2 separate regions of the Homo sapiens genome follow, and region 1 is linked to region 2. The links are contacts of gene promoters, found by promoter capture Hi-C in blood cells and fetal thymus (Javierre and others, 2016). All regions are on one chromosome and are shown on one strand. The core of a region is centred on a gene start or on the middle of the fragment in contact, and the rest is flanking DNA. Distances in the headings are between cores, read along the strand shown.

Evidence for each region. Contacts are between HindIII fragments. The CHiCAGO score rates a contact against its expected background, and 5 or more counts as called.
Region 1: a fragment that was not itself captured here is called in contact with the fragment with the promoter of OR2AE1 in region 2 in 1 of 17 cell types (erythroblasts); the score reaches 5.7 in erythroblasts.

Annotation. Positions count from the first base shown.
Region 1 is chr7:99,667,757-99,670,460 of GRCh38, forward strand. All of the region lies in intron 4 of CYP3A5 (cytochrome P450 family 3 subfamily A member 5), which reads right to left. It also overlaps a transcript of ZSCAN25 not described here. Among named protein-coding and RNA genes, the nearest start is that of CYP3A5, 11 kb to the right of the region's middle. The HindIII fragment of the contact is 1,599 bases long and covers 622-2,220 here.
Region 2 is chr7:99,875,664-99,878,363 of GRCh38, forward strand. OR2AE1 (olfactory receptor family 2 subfamily AE member 1) reads right to left here and starts at 1,370. Exons shown (of 1, transcript NM_001005276.1): 1 at 399-1,370. The coding sequence starts at 1,370. The coding sequence ends at 399. The HindIII fragment of the contact is 12,247 bases long and covers 1-1,914 here.

The DNA.
Region 1 (2,704 bases), core at 171-2,670, 210 kb before region 2:
AATCTCAATAAACTAGGAAGAGAGAGACAGTTCCTTCATTTGATAAAGACAATCTGTAAAAAAATCATTCAGTTAAATCACATTTAATGATGAAGGACTGAATGGTTTTTCCAAGATCAAGAAGAACTAAAAAATGCCCACTCTCAACATTCTTACTAAAGAGCATACCTGATGTCTTAATACACTAGACAAGAAAAAGAAATAAAAGGCATACAGATTGGAAAGGAAATAATAGAATTGTCTCTATTTTCAGGTGACATAATTGTCAATGTATAAAATGTCAAGGAATATACAAAAAAATTTCTAGAACGAATAGGTAAGTTCTGCAAGGCTATAGGATACAAGATCAACAAACAAAATTATTCACATTTCTATGTAACAATAATCAATATCTGAAAATACAAGAAAAACAGTATCATTTACAGTTACTCCAACAAAAATGAAATATTTCTGGTGTAAATCTAACAAAAGATGTACAGGACCTCTATGCTGAAAACTATAAAATGTTGAGGAAAGTAATAAAAGCTAAAGAAATGGAGAGGCATACTATATTCACGGGATGAAAGGCTGAACATAGTAAAGATATAGATTATACCCAAATTGTTCTATTGGTTTAATTCAAGCTTGTCCAACTTGTGGCCTGCAGGCCTCATGCAGTCCAGGATGGCTTTGAATGTATCCCAATACAAATGTGGAAACTTTCTTAAAACATTTTGAGTTTTTTTGCAATTTTTTTTGTAATTTTGTAATTTGACTATGTGATTCTCAAGTGTGAACTTCGTAGACAACAATGGAATGGAAAGGGGTAATCAGAGTATGTCACATCCACAAATAATGGACTAGTATCCATAATTTGCATTATAATTGCAAACAGTTCAGCAAGAAGAAATTAAAAGCCATTAAAATTAACTAACAAAGAGCGAGAGGACGCTATTGCAGTGCCACGTGAAGTGAATTGTGACAAAGAATTCAAGTGTGTATTCTGGACAAGGCAGAGCGCTGCTGTACACCAGACACTGTCGCCATTTGTACGCATGTGTGGCTTCAGTTTTATGGTGGTGTGCGACTTCCAGTGTGTTATCTTCTAATCACGGACAGTTGAATTGACACTGTCAGGTATTAGGTGTGTTTGTGGCAATTTGGCAAGTAAAACCCAGCAATTATCAATAATATTTCAACCTACCTTTGTAGATGATAGGTGTTTAATATTATTTAGAAGACATGTAAGTATTCTTATTTGATTATTAAACCTTGCTTTCTGTTCTATTTTCCTATCTGTTAATTTCCATAATAAAAGTAAATATAGTTGCTTATCTATTATAATGCTTTTAATTCCAGAATGGCTTCCACAATGTCTTAAAAAGAAAACCCTAAAAAACAAAAATTATGGATGAAGGAAGATTGTTCAATGAAAAGTGGACAAATGACTTTTTCTTGTTGAGGCAAATAGCGAAGCACTCTGCTTAATTTCCACGGAATTTGTGCCAGTTTTCAAAGACTACAATTTGAAGAGGCATTATATGCAAAAACGTGCTGACAAATTTGGTGTGTATGTGTTGTAAGGACAAAATAGCAGAACTGAAAAAAAGTCTGTCTTTTCAACAAAAAAGATTTTTTAAAAAGTTACAACTCGGACTCAATCGTAAGGTAAAACCTAGTTATGTGGTAGCAAATTTAATAGCAAAAAAATCAAAACCATTTACTGATGGTGAGTTTATTAAGCAATGTCTGGAAGATGTGGTAGATATTATTTGCCTTGAGAAACTGATATTTCTAAAATCAGTTTGTCTCACCAGACTATAGCCAGGAGAATTGGAGAAATTGGGAAATCTATTGAAAGACGTTTGGAGAGTAAAACTGCTAATTTAAAATTTTATGCTTTGGTGATGGATGAAGGCACTGACACTACAGATACGGCACAACTTGCTATTTTTATTAGAGGTATTGATGATGAATATAATGTCACTGAAGAAATCGAAATGTCACCATGCTATTAAAAGACACAACTAAATCAAGAGATTTATATGAAGCAGTGAAAAATATGTTAAAGCAATTTTCTTTGTCCTTTGTAAACATATGTGATATAGCTACAGATGCTGCCCTGGCGATGGTAGGTAAAAGAGAGGGACTTGTACAATTAATAGATGATGCAGTTGCCACACAAAACTCACATTTGATGAAGTATTATTGCATAATACATCAAGAAAATCCATGTGCACAAGCTTTAAAAGTAGATAACGTCATGCAAATTGTCATCAAGGCTGTAAATTTCACAAGGGCCCAGGAATTGAATCATCGCTAGTTTCAGGAATTCCTTAAAAGTATGGATGCTGACTCTAGCAAGTCATTCACTTTTTAGAAGTAAGATGGTTAAGTCAAGGCAAAATGTAAAGATTTTATGCTTTGTGATGTGAAATCAAGCTGTTTATGGTATCAAACAAAATTGGTGCCAGAACTTGACAATGAAAACTGGCTTACAGATTTAGCATTTTTAGTGGGTTTGACGGCCCATTTAAGTGAGTTAAACCTGTGTCTTCAAGTTGAAAACCAACTTAACAATACAATGTTTCAAACCATAACAGCATTCCATATGAAACTGAAATTATGGCAAGCTCAAATTAAGGCAAACAATTTTATGCATTTCGACATGTTGGCTAAACATGGTCCTGTGAACAGCCAAAAATACGCAGCCTTGCTTTTCAAT
Region 2 (2,700 bases), core at 120-2,619:
CATTCACCATTTACTTCCCATGCTTCCAAAAGTAAGCAACACACTCCAATTTTAAACTCCATAAATACTCTCTGGTGGCATGTTTTATATATTTTTGTTAATAAAAATAATAATAGATAAGGGCCCTTATATCTTTATCTTGCCTTCTTTTTTTCAGGGTGTCAGTGACCTTTATATGTCTTCTTTCAAAGGGACTTTTTAAAAAGTTTTCCCTAATTCTCTAAAGATCTACTCAAATGTTCTCCACAGTGCTTGGATACCTGACACCAAGCTGGAATACTGGAATTGTGTGTTAAATGTGTTTTTCTTCCAGTAGTAAAACAGCATAAGGAAGCTATCTCCCTGAAAAACTTTAGAGGTTTATATGAATTAATTTAAGGAGCTTATCCTATTCCACTCTACACTCGGGGCAACCACAATTGCAGTCGTTGAATGCACTGGGTGATAACATCTCTCCTCAGCACTCTTCTCAGAGCCTTAGCTACATCTTTATTCCGGAGAGTATAAATCAGAGAATTCAATGTGGGCGTAATGATGCTGTAGAACACAGAACCAACTTTGTTCTGCAATAGAGTGCACTGGGACCTGGGTCTCATGTAGGAGAAGATGCAGGCACCAAACCAAAGAGAAACCACCGTGAGGTGGGAGCCACAAGTGGCAAAGGCATTTCTCTTGCTCCCAGATGAGCGCATCTGAATGACACTTTGAAGGATGAAGACATAGGATGTAGAAATCAGGAAGATGGGGAGGAGGAGGAGAATGCTGCTGATGTACACTGTGGTCTCATACACAGTGATGTCGCCACATACCAACTTCACAACAGCTGGGAACTCACAGTAGAAGTGGTAGACTTTCCGAGGCCCACAGAAAGGGAAGTGCATCAAGATCGCCATGTGAATTAGGGAGTTCACGGATGCCCCCAACCATGACATGACAGCCATCATCAGTCCCACCTTCTTGTTCATGAGCACAGCATAGCGCAGTGGATGACAGATGGCAACATAGCGGTCATAGGACATGACAGCTAAGAGAAAACATTCAGCACCACCTAGACACAAATAGAGGAAGTGCTGGGTTGCACAGCCCACAAAGGAGATAGATTTCTTGCCAGATAGGTAGTTGGTAGCCATCTTCAGGATGATTGTGGAGACATGCATCAGATCCATGAGGGAGAGCTGGCTGAGCAGGAAATACATTGGTGTATGAAGCTGGGGATCAATGCAGATGAGGAGAATGGTGAGGGTGTTGCCACTCACCGCAATAAGGAAGACCACCATGGTCAAGGAGAAAAGGAAAAGGTGGGTAAGGGAGTCATCGAAGAGCCCCTCAAGGATGAAGTCTGCCAGAGAGGTCTGATTCTTCTGCCACATTGTCCCCTTTCTCAATCCCTGAGGAAACAGAGAGTGGAGATAAAGAGTGTGACTGGAAATACTGGGGTCCAGTATACCCAAGGAAAAGCACCTTTTGATAGAGGACAGAACCTGTGAAAAAAATTTCCGTTTCTAATTATTCAACCTCTCTAATTATTCAAATAACCTTTTTTTAAAAGAGAGCTTAGAAATCTGCCTTCACAAACATAATCACTCTGAAATTTCAGAATATCTGGACTCTATTATCAAACTTCAAGTCTCTTCTCGTTAAGAAAGATATATATGTGTGTGTGTGTGTGTGTGTATGTATATGTATGTGTGTATATATTTATTCCCCATTTACTTCCTAGGCTTCCAAAACACACATATGTATACACACACACACACACACACACATTTGTCTTTCTTAATGAGAAGAGACTTGAAGTTTGATACTTAATGGAGTCTAGATATTCTGAGATTTCAGAGTGATCATGTTTGTGAAGGCAGATTTTTAAGCTCTCTCTCTCTATACAGACACACACAGAGAGACAGTTTGGAGAAAAGCTTGGGGGCGTTGCTTATTTTATCAGTGAGGATTTTACTAGAAAAGCTATAACACTAAGAGATTTCTCTTATACAATTGTGGAAGCTGGTTAGGCAATCTATGCGTGGCTGTTACCTTTGTGTCTGATGCTGGAACTTTAATTCCAGAGGGCAAGTAGTCAGGAAAAAAAAAATGGATATAAAGAGTGGCAGATCAAAGTCATGCTGGAACCCACAAGCATGAGCTGCAATCCCACAAAGGCAGACTGAAACCCATGTCAGTTCTTGTTGTCTCTGAAATTGGCGGTGTGGATATCCTGCAGAAGCTGGGGCGCCTCTTTTTTTTTTTTTTTTTTTTTTTGAGTTGGAGTCTTGCTCTGTCGCCCAGGCTGGAATGCTGTGGCCCGATCTCGTCTCACTGCAAGCTCCGCCTCCCGGGTTCATGCCATTCTCTTGCCTCAGCCTCCGTAGTAGCTGGGACTACAGGCGCCTGCCACCACACCCGGCTAATTTTTTGTATTTTTAGTAGAGACGGGGATTTCACCGTGTTCGACAGGATGGTCTCCATCTCCTGACCTCGTGATCCCCCCGCCTCGGCCTCCCAAAGTGCTGGGATTACAGGCGTGAACCACCGCACCCGGCCGCTGGGGCGCTTCTTAATGGCCAGATTAAAAATGCACACACCTGGCCGGGCGCGGCGGCTCACGCCTGTAATCCCAGCACTTTGGGAGGCCGAGGCAGGTGGATCACGAGGTCAGGAGATGGAGACCATCCTGGCTAACACGGTGAAACCCCGTCTCTACTA